6 separate regions of the Homo sapiens genome follow, and all the other regions are linked to region 2. Evidence: promoter capture Hi-C in 16 types of primary human blood cells and fetal thymus (Javierre and others, 2016). All regions are on one chromosome and are shown on one strand. Each heading gives the region's core, a stretch centred on a gene start or on the middle of the fragment in contact. The rest is flanking DNA. Distances are from core to core; before and after follow the strand shown. Region 1 overlaps FBXO44 (F-box protein 44). Region 2 holds the start of SRM (spermidine synthase). Region 3 holds the start of AGTRAP (angiotensin II receptor associated protein). Region 4 overlaps DRAXIN (dorsal inhibitory axon guidance protein). Region 5 holds the start of C1orf167 (chromosome 1 open reading frame 167). Region 6 has its middle 14 kb from the start of FBXO2.

Region 1 (4,724 bases), core at 1,579-4,078, 600 kb before region 2:
ACTCTAGACGAAATAAAAGTCACTGGGCTCCAAGCTAGAGGCATCTAGGCACCAATAGCTTCCCACCGTGGTGACCGAAGTCTGGTCTCTGGCCCAGTCCGCATTTTCTTGCGCCCCTTCCCCCCCCCGGCCCTGGGCATTTTGTGGTGGGGAAGTCCATGCCAGCCCTAGGAAGCCCTCTCACACCGATCGGGGTCCCCAACTGCCCGGCCCGGCGTCTCGTGCTCGCCTTCTCCGCACCCACCCTCCCAGCAAGCTCTAGTGGCATTGTTACTTCACCGGTTTCTCGGAAACAGAAACTGTGGCTGGGGCAAGGCAAGCGCCGGATCTCGCAGGCGTGTGGGGGCCTGGAGGTCCCTTGACAGTTCTCCGAACCCGGCGCCGGCCTCGGGATGTGGCCGGGGTGGAGGCGGCCGCAGAGCCTCCGCCTGGGTGGCCCCGGGGCCAGGCCCCCAGTCGAAGTCCGGGCCCAGCCGCCCGCGCCCCCCACCCCTGGCCGCCCGGACCAGCGCCCGCAGGCTCCGTGAACGCCCAGGCGCCGGAGACCCCGGCTCCCCACTCGCCCGCCGCCCGTCCCCCCGGGGACGCGACCTGGGCGCAGCGGCGGAGCTCCAGGTCGGCCCGAGCCTACGGCCTCGGCTTCGTTGTCGCTGGGCCCCGCCGCCGCGTCACGCGCTGCGCTCGGTCCCCACCCCCGCCCCGGACCCCGCTGCCGTCCCTCTCGGCCCGGCCCCTAACCCTCGCCGCGGGAAGACGAACCTGGGATCCCCAGGGCCCGGGCCCTCGCTGCGGCCTGCGTGTCCTGAAGCTGTCTCCCCCTCCAGGCGGCGGGCGGCTCAGCACCCACACCTGCACCCGCCTCCTACGCAGGGCCGAAGCTCCCGAACGCGCGGCCGCTCCCCGGACCTCCGCACTAGTTCCTTCCTTATGCGGCCCAGGGCTCCACCCTTGACCCGCGGTCCCCTCCCTAGAGGCAGGACCTGACACCCAGTGGGCTCCTTCTTTCCCTAGGGCGTGACCTCCGCAGGCTTCATAGACTCAAAGGTAAAAAACCTGAGGTGCTAGGAGGTGGCTAACGCCTGTGATCCCAGCACTTTGGGAGGCCGAGGTGGGGAGGATCGCTTGAGGTCAGGAGTTCGAGACCAGCCTGGCCAACATGGCAAAAACCCTGTCTCTACTAAATATACAAAAATTAGCCGGGCGTGGTGGCACAGGTCTATAATCCCAGCTCCTCCGGAGGCTGAGGTGGGAGAATCGCTTGAACCTGGGAGGCTGCAGTGAGTGGAGACTGTACCACTGCACTGCAGCCTGGGCGACAGAGCCAGACCTTGTCTCAAAAAATAAAAAACCTCTGAGGTTTTTTATCAGGATTAAGTTCATGAATTTCTTCCATCAGTCAACAAATATTTAGCAAGCACCTTGTTCAGGCAACCACCAAGGGTTGTGCAGGCTGTGTACTGCACAAGGGGACTGGCCCAGGACACATTAATTGCAGTCAGGGCTACATGTTCTCCGTGGAAGGCCGTCCTTTTGCAGTTTGCCATGGGCTGGTGGGTGGTGATCCTGCCCTGGCCAAAGCCCTTATCTAGCTCACCCTTGACTGAGATAGCTAAATGTGAGGAGTACTTATTGAGCACTGGATTATAGTCCATGTTCACACTGCTATAAAGAAATACCCGAGACTGGGTGATTTATAAAAGGAAAGAGGTTTAATTGACTTATAGTTCCATATGGCTGGGGAAGCCTCAAGAAACAATCGCTGGGCGCGGTGGCTCACGCCTGTAATCTCAGCACTTTGGGAGGTCGAGGTGGGTGGATCACGAGGTCAGGAGATTGAGACCACCCTGGCCAACATGGTGAAACTCCATCTCTACTAAAAATACAAACAAAATTAGCCGGGCATGGTGGTGGGCGCCTGTAGTCTCAGCTACTCCAGAGGCTGAGGCAGGTGAATGGCGCGAACCTGGGAGGCAGAGCTTGCAGTGAGCTGAGATTGCGCCACTGCACTCCAGCCTGGGCGACAGAGCGAGACTCCATCTCAAAAAAAAAAAAAAAAAAAAGAAAAGAAAAGAAAAAAGGAACTTACAATCATGGTGGTGGAAGGTGAAGGGGAAGCAACGACCTTCTTCACATGGCGGCAGGAGGGAGCCGGGGAAACCGTCACTTGTAAAACCATCAGATCTCGTGAGAACTCACTCACTATCATGAGAACAGCATGGGGGAAAACCGCTCCCATAATCCAATCACTTCCCACCAGGTCTCTCCCTAAACACCCAGGATTACCATTCAAGATGAGATGTGGGTGGGGACACAAAGCTTAACCATATCACGCACCAACTGTGTGCCAGGCACCATTCTAAATGCTTCGGCTTCATCCAATGTCCGTAAAGCTGTTGGCAAAGAGTAACACCAGGAGGCAGAGCCTGGGTGGCACTGCTGATCTGGCACAAGGTGGACTCAAGAGCTGCCCAGAGATGTCCACACACCCCAACCCCAGCCTGTGGCTGGGCCTCCAGAGGAAGCCAGCAGTACTGGACGGCTGCCAGGTGAGATACCTGCAGCTCACTGAGGGGTCTGCCCATGAACCTGTTTCTGTGATGGCCTGGTTCCTGAAATGCCAACCCCTCTGTACCTTAGACAGAAGCCATGCCATTGTACCATCTGCAGGTCCAGGCAGGACCACCTAAAGTCTGCCTTTCCTTCCAGAAACCACAGGGCACAGGTTAGACTGGGCACACCTTTTATTTGGCTGCATGCAGTAGGGCGAAGTCAGGAGAACACTGCTATCTTTCCAGCAGGACAAGAGGCAAGTTCCAAGGGTGGTTGGCTGGGAGACAGAGGTCTTGGGAATGGCAGTTCTAGGGGTGGGGTGGGGGCTTGGAATGCTCTCCAAGCCAGAGGGGGCCGGGCCTGGATTTGGGAGGTGGACAGGGGATTCTTCAAACCCCCTACCATACTCATCCAGGGCTCATGTGTCCAGCTGTCAGAGCAGGTCCCAATCCTGCTCCCCATCTACCCTGGGACATCCTGTACAGGATTCCCTCAGTCCTCTGGGAACCTAACCCCACCTGGTACCCATCTAGCTTCTGGGGCTCCACTGACAGTGAGGACAGTCCACACCCGACCTGGACCCCACCCCACCCTGGGTCTGTCCATCTCAGTCCCGGCCTGAGCCTCTGGGCCAAAGCCACCTCTTCTGAGCAGGCAGGCAGAGCGAGAGACTGGGAGCAGCAGACAGGGGCAGAGCACGGCCCATGAGCCCACCCTCCACTTCCCAGATTGGTCAGAGTTACATGGTCACCTCCCTGCACCTGCACCATCAGGGCAGCTGCAAGCTTGCCAGTTGTCTTGCCTGTCCCTGCTCCGAGGGTCAAAGAACACAGGTAGAATGGTCCCAGGAGGGGAAGGGAGAGACAGATCCAGGCTGGCCTCCAAGCTCGACTTTCTGAGGGGCCCAGGGGAACATGCTGCACCTCCCACATCTCAGGTGCTCCGTCTCTGAAAGGGGCACACGCAGGCTTCCCCGGCCATCATTCAGGTCAAGACCTTTCGGGGAGAGCTGGCCCGACCCCAGCATGCGAGGGCTGCCCACACTGAGAGGCTCCACAAAGAAGAGGCTGCTAGGGGCAAGGGTTAGAGGTCTGGGGACACCTGGCCTCCACCTCCCCTTCCCAAGCCCAGCCCTTTTCTGACAGCAGTTGTTTACCAGTCAGGGTTCAGCAGATGGGGGCTCAGGGGGTGTCAGGGCAGCGGGGGCCCGATGGTGATGCTGCTGTTGGTGACCCTCGGGCCGTACCAGCCGGCCCAGTAATGAGTGTCCACGCCGCCGTGCTGAAACCAGATGTAGCGGACGCCGGGCGGGTAGTTGGAGAATGTGTGGGAGACCTGGCAGGGCAGGTAGAGGGGGGAGAAAGGTCAAGGGAGCTGACTCAGGCTGGGTGTGGCGGCTCACACCGGGAATCCCAGTACTTTGGGAGGCTGAGGTGGGAGGGTTGTTTGAGCCCAGGAGTTTGCAACTAGTCTTGTCGCAAACCAGAGAGTGAGATACCATCTCTACAAGAAAAAAAAAATTAGCCAGGCATGGTGGTGTGTGCCTGTAGTTCTAGGCAGGCTGAGGCAGGAGTACAGGCTAAAGTAGGAGTTCAAGACTGCAGTGAGCTGTGATCACGTCACTGCGCTCCAGCCTGGGCAACAGAGTGAGACCGTGTCTCTAAAAAACAAAAGAAATAAAAGATGAGCCTTAACAAAAAGGGTGGGAGCAGACTCTGAGTGTGGCACTGCCTGAGGGGGGCAGGGGAACAAGGAAGGGGCTGAGTTCTTGGTGCCAGCTAGAAATCAGTGGAGTTCTAGTTTGAACTCTGTGATTTGGGACAGACCAATTCCTTTCTCTGTGCTTCAGTTTCCTCATCTATAAAATGGAGCAAAATCCTGCTGGTCTACTCCACAGGATTATCATTCAGCCCAAAGGAATGGAAAGAAACTGCAAGCTGCCAAAGGATGTCCAATATACTCATCACGGGGCACATGTATTATTTAGGTTAAAATTAAGTAAAAGTGCCCGGCGCGGTGGCTCATGCCTGTAATCCCAGAACTTTGGGAGGCTGAGGCGGGTGGATCACCTGAGGTCGGGAGATGGAGACCAGCCTGACCAACATGGAGAAACCCCGTCTCTACTAAAAATACAAAATTAGCTGGCGTGGTGGCGCATGCCTGTAATCCCAGCT
Region 2 (4,961 bases), core at 711-3,210:
AAGGCACCTGGCTGCATCCAGGCCTGTCATCTACGGCCACCATCCTCAGCTTCAGAGCTTATGATCTGGCTCAGGGAACACAGACAAGTACTGCCATCTACAGCCACCATCCTCAGCTTCAGAGCTTATGATCTGGCTTAGGGAACACAGACAAGTACACGGGCAGTTACAACCCAGAGGCAGAAATGTCTTGGAGGAAGTACAGGCAATGTAGGCAAACACCTTGACCCAAGTACAGGATTGAACCCAATCAAGCCTGTAGCACTGGACACACTGATTGACTCTGTCTTATCCACTACGTGGACATTTCAAGAATAATCTTCGTTCCTGGAACAAGTCCATGGAAGCTGTTGCCTAGCAATGTTTTTTATTTTTTAGAGACAGTCTTGCTATGTTGCCCAGGCTGGTCTCGAACTCCTGGGCTCAAGCGGTCCTCCTGCCTCGGCCTCCCAAAATTCTAGTATTATCAGCCTGAGCCCCTGTGCCCAGCTGCCTAGCAATTTTTTTTTTTTTTTTTTGAGACGGAGTTTCACTATCGTTGCCCAGGCTAGAGTGCAGTGGCGCAATCTCAGCTCACTGCAACCTCCAACTCCCGGGTTCAAGCGATTCTCCTGCCTCAGCCTCCCGAGTAGCTGGGACTGCAGGCGCGCACTACCATGCCCAGCTAATTTTTGTATTTTTAGTACAGACGGGGTTTCACCATGTTGGCCAGGATCGTCTTGATCTCTTGACCTCGTGATCCGCCCGCCTCCGCCTCCGCCTCCCACAGTGCTGGGATTACCGGGGTGAACCATCACGCCCAGGCACCTAGCAATTCTTTAGCGGTCTTGGTTTACCTCCCCTTTAGAAGGAGCTTAAAAGCAAGCAAGGCACATTGTTGCCTAGGCTTGAGGCTTGCTCTCACCCATAAACAACGCTGTTACTCTGCTCTGGGGACGACACAGGAAACGTTCCCCACCTCCAGGTGGAGGCTGCAAAACGTGTCAAAACCATCCCTGACATAATGTCAAGAGTAGCTTATACTAGTTTCATCTTCCTTCCTTGGCATTCGAACTGCGTGTGGAACAATTAGCATTTAATATTTGGTAATTAGCATGCTTAATGTGATTCTGAGAAGTTCTTTGACATTCTCATAAAAACAGCACATTCCCACCCACCCTTCAAAGAGCAAGACCCAGTTTGTCAAGAAAAATTGCGTGCCAGTCTTTTCTGGTGCTGAATATGTATGTTCTGGGCCTCTTCCTGGACACTGCTGGTAAATTTAGAAACTCGTTTAGAAAAGCACTTCTCTCGTATTCAACAGCCTATAGGCTCATGGCGCAGAATCTAAGGGAAAATGGCTAAATCCAGCTTGTGAATTCGCGGGCTGTGATGATTCTTTCCAAGTAAATAAAAACCCTCGGTTCGCCCCGACGAGCCACATAATCTGTTCAAATCCAACAAGGAACCAGATTTTGGACGCAAAGAAGGATACGTTCTACTCGCCCCGTGCAACAACGTAAACCACTGTAGCCACCCGCTCCCGTGTCTCCAGCCCAAAGGCTGACTCTCCAGTCCGCACGTCGCAGCGCTCTTGCCCTCCACACCAAGCCCGAGTCCCGCAGCCCCTCGAGGCCCTCGGTGCCTCCCAACCCCGAGAAGGAAGCGGGGGCCGGTGGTGCACCGCCCCGGCTGCTTGGGGCGGAGGAAGGACCCGGACCCCTTCCGCCGGCCCAGCCCGCCCCGGAACCCGACCCGGCCGCCCGGCCCCGGCCGGGCCCCACGTGGCCCCTGGAGCGGGCCGCACTACCCTGCTGCCGCCGACGGACGGCGCGCCACAGCCACTCTGCGCCGCTCTGCGAGCCGGTGGCCAATGAGCGCCAGGCGAGGCCGCTTTGCCATTGGCGAGCGCGGGCTCCGCCCCCGCCGGCAGGCCCCGCCCCGCGCCCGGGTTAGGTTGCGGCGCGGGCGGCGGGCGGAGCTGGTCCCGTTGTGCTGCGGCGCCGCGCGGCCTGCAGTCCCGGGCCCGCGCCCCGCGCCGCCCGCCCGCCCGCCATGGAGCCCGGCCCCGACGGCCCCGCCGCCTCCGGCCCCGCCGCCATCCGCGAGGGCTGGTTCCGCGAGACCTGCAGCCTGTGGCCCGGCCAGGCCCTGTCACTGCAGGTGGAGCAGCTGCTCCACCACCGGCGCTCGCGCTACCAGGACATCCTCGTCTTCCGCAGGTACCGCCGCTGCCCGCAGGCGCCTGCCCCCTAGGCTCAGCCCGGGCCGCCTGCTGCCCGCCTCACGGGCCTCTCCACGCCGGGACCCAAGCGGGCTGGACCTCGTCCTGCCCTGGCCCCCTCGCCACCCCTCACACCGCCTCCCTGGGCTGGGGCTGGGACTGCGGGCTGGCCTCTTGGGTGGGGGAGTCGGAGTCTGCGCCCCGCTCCACGTGTCAGCCCTCAGGACACGTCAGAGCCCGAGGAGACCCCGGGTCCCACCCCGGCCTCCACCCGGCGGCCCGCCTGCCGTTCCTCGCCACGTGTCACCATCGCTCCTCATCCCTGGGACCCCTAGGCGGGATGGGGAGACCCTCCTCACCCAGGGCGGCTTGGGGTACGTTTTCCCCACCCCAGAGAACCCAGGTCCCCGACTGTCACTCCGCCCGCAGTAAGACCTATGGCAACGTGCTGGTGTTGGACGGTGTCATCCAGTGCACGGAGAGAGACGAGTTCTCCTACCAGGAGATGATCGCCAACCTGCCTCTCTGCAGCCACCCCAACCCGCGAAAGGTACCCCAGTGTCCCCTGGAACAGTGCCGGACGAGGGGCGGCCCCAGGTGTGCTCCGGGCTCTTCCCAGATGCTGCCTGCATGGTTGTCAGAGAAAGTGCTAGCGAGGCCAGGGGCGTCCCGCGGAGGGGTGGGGGCCGACACTGACGCGGCCTCGGAATCCTAGGGCAGCCCTGGAAGGAACTTCCAGGAAAGGGGACACCGGCACGAAAGCGTTTCCGAGGGTAGAAAAAGATGAGGCCCGTGGGTCCGAGGGGTCAGGGGGTCTGCTTCAGGGGCCTGGGGGCTCCCAGTCCTGCCAGGGCCCCTGCCTTGACTGCCCCCTCCTCCCAGGTGCTGATCATCGGGGGCGGAGATGGAGGTGTCCTGCGGGAGGTGGTGAAGCACCCCTCCGTGGAGTCCGTGGTCCAGTGTGAGATCGACGAGGTGAGTGCCGGCGTAGAGCCAGGTTTGAGTCCTGGTTCTCCCAGCGGCCAGCTGTGCCCTGAAATGGCTGCACACCCCCGAGCAAGGCAGGTAGGGCCTGTTTCTCCATCTGGAAAACACCTGGTCGGGGAGGGTTCAGTAGGAAAACCAGATGGCAGAGGGCCTGGCAGGTGGTGAGGGCACCTGCGTGGCGAGCTCTTACTAAAACTGAGCTGATTTTTTTTTTTTTTTTTTTTTTGAGACAGAGTTTCGCTCTTGTTGCCCAGGCTGGAGTGTGATGGTGCGATCTCGGCTCACTGCAACCTCCACCTCCTGGGCTCAAGTAGTTCTTCTGCCTCAGCCTCCGGAGTAGCTGGGATTACAGACATGCGCTACCATGCCCGGCTAATTTTGTATTTTTAGTAGAGACAGGGTTTCTCCATGTTGGTCAGGCTGGTCTCGGACCTGGCGACCACAGGTGATCCGCCAGCCTCGTCCTCCCAAAGTACTGGGATTACAGGCGTGAGCCACCACGCCCAGCCGACTAAGCTGATTTTTAATCTGAGCCCCAGGCAGGGCCCCAAGACAGCTCAACTATTTGTACGTTACCCCTTACACTCAGTAGCTGCTCACTAAAATCATGCTACGTGCCAGGTGTTGCCCGGGTATGGGGACAGTGGTAGACGACAGATCAGTCCCTGCCCTCTAGGAGCTGATGTCCTAGTTAAAGGAGACATCAGATGGCCAGACGTGGTGGCTCACACCTGTAATCCCAGCACTTTGGGACGCCAAGGCGGGCAGATCACCTGAGGTCAGGAGTTCAAGAGCAGCCTGGCCAACCTGGTGAAACCCCATTTCTACTAAAAATACAAAAATTAGCCGGGCATGGTAGTGCATGTCTGTAAACCCAGCTACTAGGGAGGCTGAGGTGGAAGAATTACTTGAGCCCGGGAGGCGGAAGTTGCAATGAACCGAGATCTCGCCACTGCACTCCAGCCTGGGTGACAGAGGAAGAATCTGTCTCAAAAAAAACAAACAACAAAAATAGAGACATCAAAGGATGGTCTGATGAAGGCAAGACAGGGGCTGGGGGACAGGAGAAGGCAGGGTTCCTGTGAATGCATGGGGGGTGGTCAGGGCAGGCCTCCAGGAGGTGGCGTTTGAGCTGAGACCTCAGTGAAAAGCAGGTGGCCGTGTGCAGGGAGGGGGAGGTTCTCCTGGCCAGAGGTTGGAATTGCATCCTTCTAAAATAGGAAACAGGCCAAGCGCTGGTGGCTCACACCTGTAATCTCAGCACTCTGGGAGGCTGAGGCGGGCAGATCACAAGGTCTCTACTAAAAATAAAAAAAAAAAAAAAAAAATGGCCCAGCTTGGTGGCGTGCGCCTGTAATCCCAACTACTCGGGAGGCTGAGGCAGGAGGGTGCAGTGAGCTGAGATCGTGCCACTGCACTCCAGCCTGGGCAGCAGAGCAAGACTGTCTCGAAAAATAAATAAAATAGGAAGCGACAAGAAAGCCACTCAGATGGGGCGATTTGGTCTGGAAGGAGGGGGTAGGGATGGGAGAGAGGAGCCCAAGCCGCCGGCAGGAGCCAGCTCTCAAGGAGAAATGGAGGTACCAGAGTTCTCCCCGCTTTACACATTATAAACTGAGGTTCCCAAAAGGGGCCAGGTGTGGTGGCTCACAGCTGTAATCCTAGCACTTTTGGAGGCCGAGGTGGGAGGATCGAGGAGTTCGAGGCAACATAGGGAGACTCTATCTCTACCAAAAATTTAAAAAGTAGCCAAGTATGATTGAACACACTT
Region 3 (4,961 bases), core at 2,333-4,832, 680 kb before region 2:
ACACTGCACTGCCCCTAACTCATGTCATCCGTGTAACTGTATGGGGTAGAACTGAGGCTCTGAGAGATTAAGTAAATTGGCCCAATTCATAAAGCTTACAAACAACAGAGCCCAGACACAAATGTCAGAATCAATCTATCCAGCCAGAGTTTTTGTTTGTTTTTTTGAGACAGAGTCTTGCTCTGTCGCCCAGGCTGGAGTGCAGTGGTGCGATCTCGGCTCACTGCAACCTCTGCCTCCCGTGTTCAAGTGATCCTCGGTGCCTCAACCTCCTGAATAGCTGGGACTACAGGCGAGCACCACCACACCCAGCTAATTTTTGTATTTTTAGTAGAGGTGGGGTTACATCATGTTGGCCAGGCTGGTCTCGAACTCCTGACCTCAAATGATCCACCTGCCTGGGTCTCCCAAAGTGCTAGGATTACAGGTGTGAGCCACCACGCCTGGCCCAGCCTGAATTTGTAACCCTAATTCTAGACTACGTCCTGGACCATGGATCCATCATCCTAGGAGGTAGGGACTGTATTTAACTTCTTTTTACAATGAAGAAATAGATACTGAGAGAGTTCAGAAACCTACTCAAGGTCACACAGAAACCTACTCAAGACCTTGAATGCAGACCTGCCTGCCCCCAAAGCCTGTGCTCTGTCCACTGTGCTACACCGTCAGGATCTCGAAGAGCCGTAGAGGGCAGATGGAAATGAGGAAGTCTAACCTGGAGAAGGAAAGGCTGAAGAGAAACCAGCAGGGCATGCAGACCAAGACTTAAACCCTTTGTTTGCCACTAGAGGACCCATGGCGGGGTAGGACTTCCCAGAAATGGAATAAACTCCTACCAGTCCTGTGCAAACACTTGGTGGCCTGTTACACGTGCTAGTGAGATCCCCCAGGGTGGCCGGGGCCCAGGGACACCAGTCAGGGCTGCCAAGGATGGGAGGCAGAGTTGTGCAGCGGTTAACTTCGTGGGTACTGGAGGCAAACAGGTGGATCTGATCCTGGCTCCATGACTTTAGAACCTAGTGACCTTAGGCAAGTCACCTGACCTCTCAGAACAGCTGTTGGCTCTTCTGCAAAGAAGGGCAATACTGCCTGATTCAGTGTTGTTGTGTGGATCCAGTGGTACAGGGAGGTGGAGAGGTGTGGGAAGCGCTCCACACAGTGCCTGTGAGGAATTCAGCCCTCCATCCCAGCAGTCCTCATTACTGAGTTTTTAACCCAAATGCTACACGACTACCTCCTAGACCACCAGATCCTCCTCCCAAGGTCTTCTTCCCACAAGACCTCTGTACCCTAGTCCAGTCCTTTCTAAGCTCATCACAATGTCATTCTTGCAGCTCAGGACCTGGCTTCAAGAGACATGGACAGGGCTTGGTCAGGAGCTGCCCTTTGTGCAAAGGGCCTGGGGCAGTTGTTTCTTCTCACCTGGCACCACTGCCCACTCTGGCTGAGCTGGGCAGAAGCAGGCACTCAGCCCTTGCCCAAGGAATATACAAAACGAGGGAGTGGGGAGGGAGTGCAGGCCACAGGGAGCAGTTCCCCACCTCCTGAAGGGCTCTGAACTCAGAACATCCCCTAAGTGCCTATAAGCAAGGAGTCAACAGCTGCCCTCCACAGGGTGGCCAGATCCAGCAAACAAAAATACAGAACACCCAGTTAATTTCCAATATCAGATCATGAATAATTTGTTAATATGTCCCACATATTGCCTGAGACTTACTCATACTAAAAAACTGTTCGTTGTTGATCTGAAATTCAAATTCACCTGGATCTCCTGTACACGACCTGACAACCCTGACCCCTCAGGGCCTTCCAGCACTTTGTTGTCTCTGACTGGTAGCGGCTAACACCCTTGGAGACTGGGGTCTCGTTTGCCAAGTCAAGGGGAGGACCAGCCTTTTCATCCTGGGTACCGAAAGCCAGCATAGCTCATACCTGTGGATGCTCTTAGCCTGTCAGGCCCAAAAAGTTGCTCAAAAAAAGCCCCAAAGAGACTAAGCCCTCCCAAAGGACAGAAACAGCCAACGTTAAAGTCAGCCCTAAGCTGGTACCCCAGAAAGGACCTGGCCCTGGAGTCTGATCCCTATGGGTTCAAATCCTGATATTGCCACTTACTCCCCGTGGGACCTTGGCAATTTACCCAGTCTAAGCTGAAGTTTGCTCATCTGTAAAAAGATGACCATATCAGCTTTCTCATAAGGCTGCCTTGATTAAATAACCTGGCACACCACAGAAGCCCATAAATTAGAGCTCTGTCCCTCCCACTGCCCTCACCTGATCCTCTGTCAGCAATTATTTTAAGCAAATCCCTCATCAGAGAAAAGGCAGTTGGTGTTAACCCCACATTGCCTGGAATAGAGTGCATATTGATACCAACAAGCCTCGGCTGCTGTCACGTAAATTTCTTCCCAGCTGAACGTTCCATCCAAGCCCATTCCCTTGCTCCAGCCATGTCTCCCCACCACCTTTGACTGGAAGCTTCAGGAAGGTTTGCTGAAGCAAGTATGATTAAGAAGGGAAACATGCCTATAGCAAGTCATAGCACAGATGTTGTGTAATAATAAAGTGTATTAAGCCATTGTTTTGTAACCATCTATTTCTCAGGTTCCTTTAGTCCCAGACACCAACAGGGAGCTAAATGCTCTGTCATTCATGAGTAAGAGGACATTCCTGGATATTGCCTCAAAGGAGGCTGCACTAAGACCCAAAATGGCCGGTTTGGTCCAAGGTCCACACCTTCCTGACCAAAACTACAGCCCCTAGCCCCTCTAATGCAAATGGAGCCCAGACACGTGGGCGGCGGGGCTGGGCGGGGAGAAAAAGAACAGCCGCTGGCACCCAGACCCGGACTGAGCTCACGGCTCGGGAAATGAAGACACCACAGGAAGCCCTGCAGTGTTTTCCCCAGTGCACAAAGTTGGGGTTTTCTGCTTTTAAGTAATTTCTGTTGGAGTTCGCGCTTCTTGATTATGAAATAAGGGCGCTGGATGTGTAAACTTTATAAAACCAACTGCTTGGGAACATCTGATTTCCTTAACCCGACTTAGCAAACAAGGAGGCTCCTGAAACGGTGCTGGGACCCGGGGGGCAAGCCCAGTCCCTGACCCCGCGCGGGGGAGGTGAGCCGCCTACAAGCCCCTCCCGCGCACCTTCCTCCTCCTCCAGGGGAATTCTGGGCGTGCAGGCAACAGCAATGCTGGGACCGGCGCTGCCCGCTGGGAGGGTCTGAGTCCGGGAGGGGGCGGCCCTTGCCCTCCGCTGCCACCTCCCACGGCCCCTCAGTGTCGCCCTGCTGGCCTGTGCCTGGATCACTCTCCCTGCTGTGGCCTGCCTGCCCATCTCCTTCTTGCGTGGGGTCTGTACCTTCCCTTCCTCCCTACCATCCCTCTTTCCCCAAAACTCCGGTCCTTCCTCCCACCTTCCGGGAAAATGCAAATGTCCCACTTCCTCCCGCAAAGGGGACCCTCCCCCCAGCCCGTCGCCACCTTCAGGTTCACAGCAGGCAGCTCCATCCCGACTCAGGCCGAGGGCACCTGCGCCGCAGCCGCGGGGGGCTCCTAGGCTCCGAACTCGGGGAACAAACTTGCCCGGCCCCGCCCCGCCCCGCCCGTTGCGGCCACTCCAACCCCAGCGCAGCTCAAGACCACGTGAAACGGGCTGGAGCGGGTCACGTGACCGCCGCTTGGTTGCTAGGAGACGGCGTCGGCAGCTCGCGCCTTCAGCCAAGCTCCAGACTCCCGCCACCGCCCAGGCAGTACTTGGGGGCCGCTGGCGAAAGTTGGAGTTTCTGTCGCCCAGGGCGTATCCTGCCTGGCTAATATTCCAGGAAGCGGACTGTTCGGACTGCCTGCAGCCAGGACAACTGGGGGACCGTCCAGGCGCAAAGTGCTGATGTGGCAACAGCTTGTGTCTCATCCTTGGGGGCACCCTCTCTCCTTCCCACTTCCCTGTGTAAATGGGCTATTTAGGCTACCTACCTCATATGATCCTTATGAGGATTAAATGAGCTAACTGCTGTTGTTAAAGAAAACGTTATTGGGACTGTTGTTAAACCAGTACTGTTCAAGACTTGCTGTAGGGTTATTGCCATGGAGTGAGAGTTTGGGCTCAACACCGAATACAACAAGGACCAAGGAGGGATTTATAGCCAGAGCAGAATGAGGGAGCAGGAATGGAAGATTCCTAGGAGGAGACATCAAGGATGGGGGAGTTCTTGCTAACTTAGCAGGACTCTTGCTGAAACTGGTTTATTATGCAGGCTCAGGCCCAGCAAGGACAGGAAGACACAGAGGTCCAAGGCCGAGGCCTAGTCAAGATGAGGACTCAGAGGAGTCTAACTACGGTTTGTTCTAGGAGAGAACAGTGCCCGGCACTTAGTAAATGGGCAGGACACACAAGCTATTGTTATTACCAACACAAGATGAGGCTGGGCGCAGTGGCTCACCCCTGTTATCCCAGCACTTTGGGAGGCCAAGGAGGGTGGATCACCTGAACTCAGTAGTTCGAGACCAGCCTGGCCAACATGGTGAAACCCCGTCTCTACTAAAAATACCAAAATTAGCAGGGCATGGTGGTGTGCACCTGCAGTCCCAGCTACTCAGGAGGCTGAGGCACGAGAATTGCTTGAACCGGGGAGGCTGCAGTGAGCCGAGATCACGCCACTACACTCCAGCCTGGACGACAGGGTGAGACCTTGTCTGGGAAAAACAAACAAACAAAAAGCAACACCTGAGGAGCCAAATTGGTGGGAGCCCACTTTAATCAGCATACCAAAAGTTTTAGAAAACTCTAGCTGAAAAACCATAAGAAATTCCTCCCCCAATTGTACATGAGGAAAGAAAGGGCTGTCTCCTGCCTCACCTGGCACCTCCCTTAAAGATTGTTGACCACCACATCCCCCCACCGCAACAAGAACATTAATCCGCTCTACCTCCAGGTCCCTTCCTAACATCAACTTTCCTTTA
Region 4 (4,569 bases), core at 319-2,818, 650 kb before region 2:
CTTCCTCCACCTTTCGTCATTCACAAGTGTTTCCCACCCCTAGCCCACCCCAAAATAAATCTGTTGTGCTTTTTGTTTTGTTTTGTTGAGACAGGGTCTTGCTCTGTCACCCAAGCTGGAGTACAGTGGTGCGATCATATCTCGCTGCAGCCTTGACCCCCGAGGCTCAGGTGATCCTCCTGCCTTAGCCTCCTGAATACCTGGAACCACAGGCGCACACCACCAAGCCTGGTTGGTTAATTTTTTATTTTCTTATTTTTTTTAATTTTGAGACAGAGTCTCGCTCTGTCAGAGTGCAGTCGTGCGATCTCGGGTCACTGCAACCTCCACCTCCCAGGTTCAAGCAATTCTTTGCCTCAGCCTCCTGAGTAGCTAGGATTACAGGCACCTGCCACCATGCCCGGCTAATTTTTGTATTTTTAGTAGAGATGGGGTTTCATGGCCAGGCTGGTCTTGAACTCCTGACCTTGTGATCCACCCATCTCGGCCTCCCAAAGGGCTGGGATTATAGGCGTGAGCCACCGCACCCAGCCAAGCCTGGTTATTTTTTTAAATTATTACTATTTTTGGAGATGGAGTCTTCCCGTGTTGCCCAGGCTGGTCCTGAACTCCTGGGCTCACGGGATCCTCCCGCCTCGGCCTCCCATAGTGCTGGGATTACAGGTGTGAGCCACTGCACCCGGTCTCACACTTCTAACTTACCTCAGTATCTGCTTCCTGGAAGGTCCGACGGACCCCCAAGGGCCCCCAGGGTTTAGGACATTAGTTACAACGTCCGGCTTCTTGTTTTTAGACTGTCTCCATGGAGACGGCTGCCGAACAGTGAGGATGTCACCAAAAGCATCTCCAGAATGCCTGGCAGTGTTGCGATGGGACAAGGACAGCATTAAGCCCTGCCTGGTGTCAGGAGGAAGAGGGCAAGAGAGGATCATCCCGATTTAAGGCAGCATGGGGCTGTGGTGAAGAGGCTTTCCAGCCAGGCCAGGTTGGAGCCACTTCTTAACCGTGTGACCTTGGGCAAGACAGCCTCTCTGGGGCTCAATCACCTGGCTTGAAAACTGCGTTGTTGTGAGTAATGTATTTTTTTTTTTTTGAGACGGAATTTCACTCTTATTGCCCAGGCTGGAGTGCAATGGCACGATCTCAGCTCACCACAACCTCCGCCTCCCGGGTTCAAGCAATGTTCCCGCCTCAGCCTCCCAAGTAGCTGAGATTACAGGCGCACACCACCATGCCCAGCTAATTTTTGTATTTTTAGTAGAGACGGGGTTTCACCATGTTGGTTAGGCTGGTCTCAAACTCCTGACCTCGTGATCCGCCTGCCTCGGCCTCCCAAAGTGCTGGGATTACAGGCATGAGCCACCATGCCCAGGGTATTTTTTTTTTTTGAGATGGAGTTTCCCTCTTGTCGCCCAGGCTGGAGTGCAGTTGCATGATCCCAGCTCACTGCAACCTCTGCCTTGCAGGTTCAAGCGATTGATTCTCCTGCCTCATCCTCCCGAGTAGCTGGGATTACAGGCATGTTCCACCATGCCCGGATAATTTTTATATTTTTAGTAGCGATGGGGTTTCGCCATGTTGGCCAGGATGCTCTCAAACTCCTGACCTCAGGTGTTCCACCCGCCTCAGCCTCCCATAGTGCTGGGATTACAGGTGTGAGCCACCGTGCCTGGCTGTGAATAATGTATGAAATGAATGGATGTCTGACAGCAACTCTCAGGAAAGTGGCAGCTGTTGTTATTATTTATCATCCATGAAGGGTCAAGGATTCTCAGGTCCTGCACATGTGGGAACCCCCACTCCCACCCAGGTTCCCTCCCAGTACCCAGCCTGGTGCCTTGAATGTGGGTGCTGGCTGGTACCTGGCAGGCAGTCTTGGTGATGGTCGCATGGTTCCCCTTCGGCTGGTGATGTTTCGTTACCATCACTGGAGAGTTTACCGCGGTGTTTCTCTGGGGATAAGAAGATCTGTCGTCAGAAGCTGGGGCCCAGCAGAGCAGAGGTTAAGCACAGGGACTCAGATGTTGGAGTGCCCATACCACCACTCTACAGCATGGCTTGGACAAGGCACTGTTGGACCTAACAGGTATTTTCCCTCAGGGTAACATGAGTGGAAACATGGAAGCGTGTGGCACGTGATAAGCATTTGACAGCATTCTCCGTTCCAAGTGGTGTTTCCAGGTTAGGCTCCATGCTCCCCCTCTCCCCACATCCCACCTTTGGACATCTGAAGATCAGACAGGGCTCACTGGGGCCCCCACCTCAACAGATGGTGCGGGAGGGCAGGGCACCCAGGCATGGAAGATAGTGGGGTAGGTGGGCATACCTTTCTTCTTTGCAGAGGGCCAACCATCAGGTTTTAAGTCTTCATAATCGGTCCAGTCGAACAAGGCCATGTCCAGCGTGGGCATCACCTCCCCGTCAGACCTGGGCTGTGCCTGCTGGAGACCGTGGAGAAGGGGGATGTTGGAACCTTCAAATCCATGGAAGCAGGAGTGTGGAGTCCCAAGGTCAGAGGACAAAAAAGAGGCTTCTCAGAGGCCACCTTATCCTCTGCTGGGCAGCCTGGAGTCTCAGCCCAAGGACATAAAGATGGCTGCCGGAGGCTCCTGTTCCAGTGGCCACTAGGTAATTTCCTTCCTGTGCAGCCATTACTCAAGAAGGACCATGCACACACACACAGGTGAGTTACCTACCAGGCCCTCTGAGGAGGGGCAGAGACCACCTGCAGGCTGGGAAGGCAACCTTGCTTGCCCAGGGTCTTTAAGCCCACGAGGAGGGTGTTGGAAGTAGCCCAGCCACTCACTGGACTTTCCCATCCCTTCCTCTCTCTGCAGAGGTTACCAGCAATCCGTGGCACCATTGAGGCCACAACCAGGGCTCAGTCCCACTCACAGCCTGGGCCAGTGGCCCCAGGAATGCAGAGGGCTAGAGGTCCTCAGCAATAGCTGGATCTACACACGGGCATGTGCGAGCACTAGGGCATGGGCAGGAACCGCACCTTCTAGGCTGGCCTGCAGGGGGCCTTGGATGATAAGACGGATAACCATGTATTCCTGGGAAATGGTCTGCAGCTTTTATCACAATCTCAAGGGGGTGCAAGACCCCAAAAAAGGATAAGAAAGATCTGCTGCTAAAAAAGCTTTATTTCTTTTGTATTTTTGTAGAGACGGGGTTTCACCATGTTGGCCAGGCTGGTCTCGAACTCCTGACCTCAGGTGATCTATTCGCATCGGTCTCCCAAAGTGCTGGGATTACAGGCGTGAGCCACCCACTGCACCTGGCCTATTTCTTTTTTATGTATTTTTTATACATATATATTATTGATCCTTTTAAATAATTTTAGTTTGAAAACCTTTTTTTTTTTTTTGAGATGGAGTCTCACTCTGTCGCCCAGGCTGGAGTGCAGTGGCGTGATCTTGGCTCACTGCAAGCTCTGCCTCCCGGGTTCAAGCAATTCTCTGCTTCAGCCGCCCAAGTAGCTGGAACTACATGTGCCTGCCACTATGCCCGGCTATTTTTTTTTTTTTTTTGTATTTTTAGTAGAGATGGGGTTTCACCATGTTAGCCAGGATGGTCTCGATTTCCTGACCTTGTGATCTGCCCGCCTTGGCCTCCCAAAGTGCTGGGATTACAGGCATGAGCCACCGCGCCCGGCCTGAAAACCTTTAAAAGCCACAGAAGAGGTGCAAGAACGATGCGGTCAGCTCCTATATACCCCTCTTCCAGAATCACCAGTGGGTAGTGTTTTTGCCACATTTGCCGCTTACTTTCTCTCCACATTTTTTTTTTCCCTTGAGACAGGGTCTCACTCTGTCGCCCAGGCTGGAGTGCAGTGGTGCAATCATGGCTCACTGCAGCCCTGACCTCCTGGGTTCAAGCGATCCTCCTGCCTCAGCCTCCCAAGTAGCTGGTACTACAGGCACATGCCCTCATGCCTGTCTAATTTTTTAAAAAAGTTTTGTAGACACAGGGTCTCACTATGTTGCCCAGGATAATCTCAAACTCCTGGGCTCAAGTGACCCTCGTGCCTTGGCCTTCTAAGGTGTTAGAATTACAGGCTTGAGCCAACGTGCCCGCCCCACATTTCTTTTTTTTTTTTTTTTTGAGACAAAGTCTCACACTGTCACCCGGGCTGGTGTGCAGTGGGGCGATCTTGACACGCTACAGCCTCCGCCTCCCAAGTTCAAGCGATTCTCCTGCCTCAGCCTCCCGAGTAGCTGGGACTACAGGCGTGCGCCACCACACTCAGCTAATTTTTGTATTTTTAGTAGAGATGGGGTTTCACTATGTTGGCCAGGCTGGTCTCGAACTCCTGACCTCGTGATCTGCCCACCTTGGCCTCCCTAAGTGCTGGGATTACAGGCATGAGCCACCGCGCCCAGCCCACATATCTTTTTTAAAGATCTGATGCAGATGGGTCCAAGTGTTAGCTAATGCTTATTAATTCTGGGTCTTGACGACACAGTTTTAAAAATCACCATTATTATGCTTCATGCTCCTCTGTACACAGAAAGCTCCTCCCCAGGCCTTGCTGCTCTCCATGCAGACACCAGCATGCTGAGCTAC
Region 5 (5,001 bases), core at 2,362-4,861, 700 kb before region 2:
GGCGAAGCTCTCCAGGCCTCGGAGCCAGGGAGGGGACAGGGCCCCAGCAGCGGGAGGGAGCTAAGACTTCCAGGGTCTTCTGCCAGCTCTGTCTCCCTGGGTGAAGCCATGGGCAGCCCCGGGGGCTCTTGGAGTAGGGGGGTCTTGGAGCTGGACAGAGGGAAGCAGAGAGATATTTAGGAGGCTGTTGAGGGGGTCCCAGGAGAGAGATGACGGTGGTGGGATCGGGGTAGCAGGTGGGTAAAGAGAAGATTCAGATAAACTTCAGAGATGGAGCCAGCGGGCTTGGAAGAGTCAGGTAATAAAGGGAAAAAAAAAGAAAAGAATCAAGGGGGACTCCTTGATTTCTGGCTTGAGCAAAGAGGTGGTGGGGGCAGTGGGCTGGGGTGAAAGCAGGACCCCATAGAGCCACGGCTAAAGGTAAGCTGCTCTGGGAACATGGAGAGGGGCCTTGGAGCTCCTCCCCAGCCCCCAAGCCCACTCCACAGGCACAGAGTCCTTGTGGGGATGGATGAGGTACCGGGAGGCTCTGGGCGCAGGGCCTGGCAGGTAGAGTGGGCCATAAAAGTTACTGCCTTTGTGGATGGGAACTAAAGCTCAGAGAGGTCAAGCAACTTGCCTCATGGTCACACAGCTGGAACACGAAGAAACTGGGATGTGAATTCAAGAATCTACATTTGTTCTTGGGCTGCTCCCCTTCTTGGCTGGCCCAGCTCTGTGGCTTTCTTTTTTTTTTTTTTTTTTTTTTTTGAGACAGAGTCTTGCTCTGTGGCTCAGGCTAGAGCACAGTGGTGCCATCTCGGCTCACTACAACCTCCGCCTCCTGGGTACAAGTGATTCTCCTGCTGCAGCCTCCCGAGTAGCTGGGATTACAGGCACCCGCCATCATGCCTGGCTAATTTTTGTATTTTTGTAGAGACGCAGTTTCACCACATTGGCCAGGCTGGTCTTGAACTCTTGACCACAGGTGATCCACCCACCTTGGCCTCTCAAAGTTCTGGGATTACAAGCGTGAGCCACCACGCCCGGCCCTCTGTGGCTTTCTTAAAGCCTCAGCAGCCTGAGAAGGGATGTCCCCAGGACCGAGCTGTGGGGGCCCCATCTTAGCCAGGGGCACCAGCCAGGCCTCTTCCTGACCTCACTCTCCCAAGACCCCCCTCCTTAGGCCCCAGGCTGGGAAGACTCTGTCCTATGTCCAGCCGACCGTGGGTGGCTGATCTCTGGAATTAGCCAGGCCCTATAGGCTGGCCTGCCTGGGAGGGGGGCTCTGGGCCAATACCTAGAGAGGGCCCTGCTCCTGTAACTGCCCATCCAGGCCCACTAAGCCTCTTGCCTGGCTTCGGGAGCGCTGCAGGCTTTGGGGACACATTCTCCTTGTGGCTGGCATCAGACCTTAGCTCCATGGGCTCAGGGACAGGAGTATCCTTGGTCCACTCCACAGTGAGTGGCCTGGTCTGTTTAATCAGATGGGCCCTGCGGGGAGAGGACAGGTTGCCCTGGCTCTCATTCAACCCCACCCCATTCTGATCCCTACCTCCTCCCTTTAGCAGTACTCCTAGCTGCTCTTGGCCTGGTCCCAGCTGCCTGGGGCCTGCCCCTCACTGTTCTGGTCTCTCAGTGGCTCCTCTCCCTGCCCTACTTATCACCCCCCTTTCCATATTAAGTGTCCAGGTCAAATGCTGCCCCATCCTGCCCCCCAGACCTCTCGGCTGATCTGCATACAGGTCTGAACATGCAGGTCCAGCGACCTCCTCCACGCCTACCCGGATGTCTAACAGGCATCTCAGCATTAATATGTCCAAAACTGAACTCCAGCCGTCCTCGCAACCAGCTCTCTCCCATCTTGGTGCCCCCCTTTTCCACGGATGGCAGCTCCGGCCTTCTGGTGGCTCAAACAAAAATCCTGGAGCCACCCCGATTCCCCTTCTCCCTCACACCAGTGGCTGCTCTGACAGGCTCTGCCTCCCACACGCATCCAGGATCTGACCCCTGGAGCACTGGGCGGAGTGGCCCTCACCTGCCACCTCCCAACTGGTCACCCTTATTCTGCCTCGTCCTCACGCCCGACAGCCTCCTCTTCATGCGGCGGCAGGGTGATCCTGTAAACACTGAAATCAAATCATGCCCTGCCTCAACTCTAATGCCACAGAAGCTCTCCAGCCCCCTCAATGCCCCGTGAGCCTTCAAGGCTGTAGGCCAGAGGTTAGCAAATTACTGCCTGGGCCAGTGGTCTATTATGTGAATAAAGTTATATTGAAACAAAGCCCATTTGTTTACAGACTGTCTGCTTTCCAGCTGCAATAGCAGAGCTCAATAGCTGCAAGATACCTTAGGCTGCAAAACCTTTTTTTTTTTTTTTTTGAGCCGGAGTCTCACTTTGCCACCCAGGCTGGTACAATGGCGTGATCCCGGCTCACTGCAACCTCCGCCTGCCTCCCTGGGCTCAAGGGATCCTCCCACCTCAGCCTCTAACAAGCTGGAACCACAGGCACATGCCACCACGCCAGACTAATTTTTCTATTTTTTGGTAGAGACAGGGTTTCACCATGATGGCCAGGATGGTCTCGAACTCCTGACCTCAGGTGATTGGCCCGCCTCGGCCTCCCAAAGTGCTGGGATTACAGGCGTGAGCCACCACACCCAGCCCCGCAAAGTCTTTAAAATCTGGCTGCCAGTTATGGTCCTCCCCAATTCCTCTTCCCCTTGCCCACTGTCCTCCACACACACCAGCCCCCTGGCTGCTCCTCCAAATGGCACACACGACCTCACCTCAGCGCCTCTGTGCTGCTGTCCCCTCTGCCTTCAAGTCTTGCCTCCCACATCACAGTGAGCCCTCCCTGCCCACTGTCTCTCCAACTGCAGCAACCTGGCCTCTCCTCACTCTCTTTGCCCTGCACTTGCGGCCACCTAACATAGTGAAGAAATTAGTGTATTTCTCCCTCCAGTGGCCTAGGAGCCACACGAGGGCAGGCTGGTTTTTTTTGTTTGTTTGTTTCCCTGCTGGATTTGCAGCCCATAGAACAATGCCTGACCCCCAGCAGGGGCTTGTAAATGCACATTGAATAAATGACAACCGTGCTAGGCACCTTGCAGCCTTCAGCAGGCGTCCTGCCATTTAATCTGCACTGCAGCCCTGGGACTTAGGTTCCCTGTTTTAGAAATGAGGACAGGAGCTTAGAAGGGCCTGTCCCACCCAAGGCCTCAGAGGGAGCACCCCAGGGCTGGCTCCACAGCGCAGACTCCTAACCAAGAACACCCCACCATCCCCTCTTGCCCAAGTTGACTTGAGGCCGCTCAATCCACAGGAGACCTTCCTGCACCCCTGCCCCTCACGCCGGAGCTCTTCGGTCCATTTCTCCGCTCCTCGTCCGTCTCCCTCAGACTCCCCCCTCCCACTCCACCCCCACCCCTGTCCACTTAAGGGGGCTCACAGCCTCCCTCCTCTTGCCACCAAAAGAGTCTGAGGTCAGTTTCCTGCCCTCATGGATCTGCCCTCACGTGCGTGGGTCCTCCTCGGGTCCTCCTTCACCCAGTCGGATTTGAATCTAGACGGGGGCTGGGACCGCTAACGATCCCCGCAGGTCGGCAGGTCGCGGGCGGGAGGGGACGTCGGAGAGCAGAGCGTGCTGCCCCGCGCTTGGCCCCGCCCAGCCCTGAGCCGTGGGCGTGGCCACCGACGTCCTGGTACAGGTTTTGCCGGGTCCTCCGCAGGCAAGGCACGTGGTCCCAGGGCAACTTTTGCACGTGCAAGATGAGCGACATTCTCTTGGCCATCAGGTCCCCGGGAACCTCCTCCACCCTCTGCCCCGAATCCTGTGGCAGCATCACTGGGGTCTGGGCTTCCTCCACCAGGCGTGCCTCCTCTTGGCTCCTTCCCGCACCTAGAGCTGCCTCCTGGAGCCCCCGCACATCTGGGATACCCCCAGCCATGTCCCCACCACCTATGCCTCTTGGGGCTGCAGGACATGCCCCCGGCTCCCACTGGTAGGAACCCCAGGGGCAGGACATCCGGGTCATGGACACTCACATCCTCACCCGTTCCCAATAGGTGCGATGTCCCATCCAGGGATGTCTCAGATGCAGCTGGCAAACCATGGCCCTCATGGCTGAGGACACACCCGTGATGGGACCCCAGGATCTGGGGGGCAGCCACCACCCTGATCACCACCTGGAATGCCTCATCCTGGACCTCCTCCAATGAGCATGTCCCCCAAGGGGTCTCGGTCTGGATCTCCCATGGGTCACTCACGTCCTATGCCTCCATGGTATGTGTGGACCTCCTCCACCGATGCTGCCTCATGGATACACTGGCCCTCCCCAACACCCACCCTATGGCTTCCGGGGGGGACTCTCCCTCCACCCAGACCCACTCCGGGGCCTCCAGTTCCCCCTCAAGGCCCACTTTGGGGCCCTCTCCCTCAGTAAATTCACATTCTTCTTCCTCCTGTTATATCTTCCCAATATCTTTTTGATTCCTTGGACCAGAGATGCTGCAGCTCCTTGCAACTAAGGCACAAATCCCTTTCAGCCTTCCCATCTTCCTTTTTAATGCCATTTTTTTCCCCATAGAAGGTATTTCTTTTTCATGTTGGTCCTAAGTATTTTGCAAATGCAAAGGAAAATAAAACTATAACAAATTTCTTGTTAAAAGAAAGAAAGAAAGAAAGGCTAGGCACAGTGGCTCACACCTGTAATCCCAGCACTTTGGGAGGCTGAGGTGGACGGATCACAAGATCAGGAGTTCAAGACCAGCCTGGCCAACATGGTGAAACCCTGTCTCTACTAAAAATACAAAAATTAGCCGGGCATGGTGGCGGGCACCTGTAATCCCAGCTACTCAGGAGGCTGAGGCAGGAGAATCACTTGAACCTGGGAGGCAAGGGTTGCAGAGAGCCAAGATCCTGCCATTGCACTCCAGCCTGAGCAACAGACCAAGACTCTGTCTCAAAAAAAAAAAAAAAAAAAAAAGAAAAAAAGAAAAGAAAAGAAAAGGCTGGATGT
Region 6 (4,388 bases), core at 1,304-3,803, 580 kb before region 2:
GCTGGAGTGCAGTGGCGCGACCTCTGCTCACTGCATCTCTACCTCCCGGGTTCAAATGATTCTCCTGCCTTAGCCTCCCAAGTAGCTGGGACTACAGGCGTGCGCCACCACGCCCAGCTAATTTTTGTATTTTTAGTGGAGACGGGGTTTCACCGTGTTGGTCAGGCTGGTCTCGAACTCTTGACCTTGTGGTCCGCCCACTTCGGCCTCCCAGAGTGTTGGGATTACAGGCGTGAGCCACTGCACCTGGCCTCTGGTTTCTTTACCTTAAAAATCTGGATTTTTGTGTACGCGGTGTATTCAGTTGTGGACATGGTATATTCAATTGTGCACATAGAGGGAGGGAAGGGCCAGTTCCTCCAAGTACCACTAGGTGTCAGCATTGTCAAGGCTGTCCCCAAGCTGTGTCTGTCCTGCCCATTTCTCTGCGGAGGAAAAGTCGAATTTGAATCCAAGTCCTGGTCTCTTCCCATTGTTTGGGGCTGAGCCTGGCTCTTCAGGGGCTGGGATTTGGTGCTGCTCTGACCCCAGAGGCTGTATGAGAAACATTTAGGAGGCTAGGTCTCCAAGGCCTGGGAGGCCCCTGGGTCTCACCCCAGGCCACATAGCAAGGGCTTTGGATGGCTGGACTCCCCTCCAGAGCTGGGCCCCTCCCAACTAGGGAGGGCTGGTGGTATCCTGGGATCTAGCTCCAAGTAGGTCTGGGAGTCTAGAACCCCCCCAAGTCCATCTCCACCTCGGCAGAGCCCTGGGCCTTGCTTGATGGTGCCAGGCCTGCAGTGAACACAGAACACCCAGACAGATCCAATCCTGAGTTCCTGGTGCATAATGACTTTGCTATTTCCCACCACCGTAAATTAAACCTAATCTTGTGTTGACTCTGCTGAACAAGGAGAATAATGAAGAAGATTAAGATGAGATGGTATTCATTCTCCTCCAACAAAAGCCAATTAATTGTCAGTAGGATTACTGCCTGGAGCCAGGAGCTGCTTGCTAGGAGCTCTGCAGACAGGATGGAACAGGGCTGAGGGCCATTCGCTAGGGTTGCCACTGGGGTCTGCTGGTCATGCAGCAGGAAATATTGCAGGTAGATGTTAGGGAGAACTGCCAGAATGAAGGAGGGGGCTGGCACCAAGGAGGAGGGTGCAAAGAGCTTGGAATCACTCACAGAGGTGATGTTTCTAAGGCGTGGAGGGGAACGCTGTGGAAGTTCCCAGCCACCTGACCATGTCCATCCGAGGCCCCCTGGGACCTTCCCCTGACCATGTCCATCCGAGGCCCCCTGGGACCTTCCCCTGCCTTTCTGCGGTCACCTTTGATGAATGAAGCTGCATTCAGGGGTCTCTGGCTTCCTCCCCACTCTGCTTTTTTTCCTCCCTTCCTCTCCTAGGAATCAGGGAGGCCATTTGTCCAGTGTTAACAGCTTGGGTTTAGAGACAGAAACATGGCCAGGCGCGGTGGCTCACGCCTGTAATCCCAGCACTTTGGGAGGCTGAGGCGGGTGGATTGCTTGAGGTCAGGAGTTCCAGACCAGCCTGGGCAACATGGTGAAACCCCGTCTCTACCAAAAATACAAAACAATTAGCTGAGCCTGGTGGCACACGCCTGTAGTCCCAGCTACTTGGGAGGCTGAGGCATGAGAATCGCTTGAACCTGGGAGATGGAGGTTGCAGTGAGCAGAGATCGCACCACTGCACTCCAGCCTGGGTGGCAGTGAGATTTTCTCTAAAATAAAAATAAAAATAATTAGAGACAGAAACACTTGGGCTTCACCTGGCTTTGCCCCTTGTCCTCAACCACACAAATGGAACCTACGATCCTCACCTGCCAACCTGGTTTGATACTCCCAGGCACTAATGTGCCTCCAGTTCCTGCACCCACTAGATTCTTGGAACAAGACAGTGAAGCTGAATGGAGTGGCCTGACTGCTGTGGGCCGTTGCCAGAAGGTGAGGGAACCAACATTTGTTGGTCTACTGCTGCATTATCTCATCGACTGCCTACAGCAGCCTCCTCGGGAGGCTTTATTTTGTCATCACAAAATTTATTGAAGAGGAAACCGAGGCTCAGAGAGGTGGGGCCCTTGGTCGAGGTCACCAAGCTGTAGGCTGCAGAGTTGGCTGGGACGGGGCTTCTGTCGCCATGGCCCCCAAAGCTTGAGCCCTTTCCTCATCTGCACATTGCTTCGTGCACATGGAAGGCATTCAGTGTGTGCTGGCCGGATGAATGAAACGCTCATCAAATGCTATTTCTGGTCCAGTAAGTTCCGTTTCAGACTCTCCCACATCCTGATAACTCCCAGAAGTAAATGGATTGTGTGTGATTTGTGAAATTCTTCTTGGTAATTCTTGGCAACTCACCTACCTCACTACTACTGTGAAGAAAACTCTACCCTCCCATCCAGATCTAAGTTTGCTTCATTTACTCGGATTGATGAGGTTTTTTTTTTTAATTTTTTTTTATTTTTTTTTATTTTCTGAGCATGGCAAAAGTAGCCTCAAAGTCCAGTTTTACAATCTATGCTATCTCAGCACACGCTGAGCACTCACCATGTGATAGGTGTGTTCAAAACATCACCTGTGTATGGTTTTATTTAATCCTCCAAGCACATCTGTGTGCTATTATTCCCATTTCAGAGGCTGAGATGAAACTGAGGCCCAGAGACGTGCATTCTCGCCCCAGGTCACACAGCAAGGGCTTTGCATGGCTGGAATCCCCTCCAGAGCTGCCTCTCCTCGCCCCCTGTCACCACCTGCAGGCTTTCCTGGGTGAAGTGATTCTTGCGGAGGGATTCTAGTCCTCTGTGCAGACAGGAATTGTGGTGGAGGCCGTGGGCTTCCGGGTTCAGTTGGAATTGGTGGAGTTTTCTGTGTCCCACAAATCACACACTTAGACTCAGCCTCAGGAATTGATCTTTGGTTCATATGTGGAAGGATTTACCACTTAAGCTTTTTTTTTTTTTTTTTTTTTTTGAGACGAAATCTCACTCTGTTTCCCTGGCTGGAGTGCAGTGGCATGATCTTGGCTCACTGTAACCTCCACCTCCCAGATTCAGGTGATTCACCTGCCTCAGCCTCCAAGTAGCTGGGATTACAGGTGTGCACCACCACACCTGGCTGTTTTTTGTATTTTTAGTAGAGATGGGGTTTCACCATGTTGGTCAGGCTGGTCTCGAACTCCCGGCCTCAAGTGATCCGCCCGCCTCGACCTCCCAAAGTGTCGGGATTACAGGCGTGAGCCACTGTGCCCGGTCACTTAAGCATTTACTCAGCACCTTCTGCGTGTCAGCACCTTGTTATGCTTTGAGGATACAACAGTGAACCAATGAGGTCCTTGTCCTCTAGGAGCTCACAGACTAGAGGGAGAGAAGGATCTGGGTTCCCAGTTCTGACCCTCCCCAGGTGTGTGACCAGTTAGTGCCTCAGTTTCCACATCTGTAAAATGGGGATGATTTTGTTACTTACCTGATAGGATTGTTATGAGAATCAAATGAATTAATATAGGTAAGACACTTAGATCAAGGCCTGCACATAAAAGGTGCTACATACAAGTTTGTTAAATAAAATGGACAAGTCTGGCAACTATAGTCTAATAATAGTAAAAGGGTGGTGAGGGGAAGCCTACTGAATTTTAGAGGAGGGACATCTAACATAGACCTTGATCAGGAAGGTTTCCTGGAGGAGGCGGTCCATGGACTCTTGACCCAAGTGATGGTAGGAGGGTGAATTACTTCCCTAGCCAGCTTGTAGCTTCCTGGGCTGTCACTGGGAGCTGCAGTACTAACTGGCCTTTTCCTGGGGCTTATTGTCATAATTTTTCAATGTGCGAAGCACTGTAGTAGCATCTGGATTCGAATAGAAATCTCTGTGCTCAGGGACCTATGATTGAGAGGGTGGGAGGAAAACATCCTGAATATGTTCTAGGACAGAAAAACAGGCCCCCAGACGCTGTGGGCAGTGTGTGGGGAGGTCTCCAGTGGGGCAGGGTGTAGAGAGGCCCTCAAAGCTGCAGAAAGACAAAGATGTCCTCGAAAAAAAGAAAACTAAAAAAAAAAAAAAAAAAAAAAAAAGGAAGGGGGAAGCCGGCAGGGAAAATGATTTTCTCGGCTGGCATTTCTTGGGGAATTAAATCTTGTTTTTCGTCACCACCAAGTGGAATAATCCAATATATTAAAGCAGAAGTCCCCACTCCTATTTATTGCTGCGACTTTGACCTAACAGTCTCGGGTCTGCATTTGGAATCAGACTGTCCCGGGGAGGGAGAGCAGGAGGGAGGAGGCATCAACCCCTTGGATCAATTACTTTCCTCTCCGACACAGGAAAAATGAATTATTCCCCGAAAAGCAGGCACCTCATCCGATGAATTCTGCACTGCAGAGCTGGTGGAGTT

What was found. The method cuts DNA at HindIII sites, captures the fragments that hold promoters and counts their contacts. A CHiCAGO score of 5 or more calls a contact.
Region 1: a fragment that was not itself captured here is called in contact with the fragment with the promoter of SRM in region 2 in 1 of 17 cell types (M1 macrophages); the score reaches 5.2 in M1 macrophages.
Region 3: a contact is called between the fragment with the promoter of AGTRAP here and the fragment with the promoter of SRM in region 2, in 6 of 17 cell types (total B cells, naive CD4 T cells, naive B cells and 3 more). The highest score is 6.7, in total B cells.
Region 4: a contact is called between a fragment that was not itself captured here and the fragment with the promoter of SRM in region 2, in 1 of 17 cell types (naive B cells). The highest score is 5.7, in naive B cells.
Region 5: a contact is called between the fragment with the promoter of C1orf167 here and the fragment with the promoter of SRM in region 2, in 4 of 17 cell types (erythroblasts, naive CD4 T cells, naive CD8 T cells and 1 more). The highest score is 9.5, in erythroblasts.
Region 6: a contact is called between a fragment that was not itself captured here and the fragment with the promoter of SRM in region 2, in 14 of 17 cell types (endothelial precursors, M0 macrophages, total B cells and 11 more). The highest score is 13.4, in endothelial precursors.

Annotation. Positions count from the first base shown.
Region 1 is chr1:11,660,291-11,665,014 of GRCh38, reverse strand. It overlaps FBXO44 (F-box protein 44), which reads right to left. Exons shown (of 6, transcript NM_033182.7): 6 at 1,688-3,885. The coding sequence ends at 3,742. It overlaps FBXO6 (F-box protein 6), which reads right to left and starts at 815. Exons shown (of 6, transcript NM_018438.6): 1 at 760-815. RefSeq lists an enhancer at 240-289 and silencers at 410-479, 530-749. The HindIII fragment of the contact is 1,019 bases long and covers 2,319-3,337 here.
Region 2 is chr1:11,057,017-11,061,977 of GRCh38, reverse strand. SRM (spermidine synthase) reads left to right here and starts at 1,960. Exons shown (of 8, transcript NM_003132.3): 1 at 1,960-2,201; 2 at 2,633-2,753; 3 at 3,086-3,178. The coding sequence starts at 2,035. RefSeq lists silencers at 1,511-2,040, 2,251-2,440. The HindIII fragment of the contact is 9,855 bases long and covers 1-4,961 here.
Region 3 is chr1:11,734,757-11,739,717 of GRCh38, reverse strand. AGTRAP (angiotensin II receptor associated protein) reads right to left here and starts at 3,582. Exons shown (of 5, transcript NM_020350.5): 1 at 3,483-3,582. The coding sequence starts at 3,509. The HindIII fragment of the contact is 3,809 bases long and covers 2,478-4,961 here.
Region 4 is chr1:11,709,723-11,714,291 of GRCh38, reverse strand. It overlaps DRAXIN (dorsal inhibitory axon guidance protein), which reads right to left. Exons shown (of 7, transcript NM_198545.4): 4 at 2,327-2,441; 5 at 1,863-1,952. Among named protein-coding and RNA genes, the nearest start is that of DRAXIN, 20 kb to the right of the region's middle. The HindIII fragment of the contact is 3,153 bases long and covers 1-3,144 here.
Region 5 is chr1:11,760,803-11,765,803 of GRCh38, reverse strand. It overlaps C1orf167 (chromosome 1 open reading frame 167), which reads right to left and starts at 3,611. Exons shown (of 21, transcript NM_001010881.2): 1 at 3,499-3,611; 2 at 1,334-1,473. The coding sequence starts at 1,403. It also overlaps the pseudogene LOC101060126. The HindIII fragment of the contact is 5,648 bases long and covers 1-5,001 here.
Region 6 is chr1:11,638,593-11,642,980 of GRCh38, reverse strand. No RefSeq gene overlaps it. Among named protein-coding and RNA genes, the nearest start is that of FBXO2, 14 kb to the left of the region's middle. The HindIII fragment of the contact is 793 bases long and covers 2,157-2,949 here.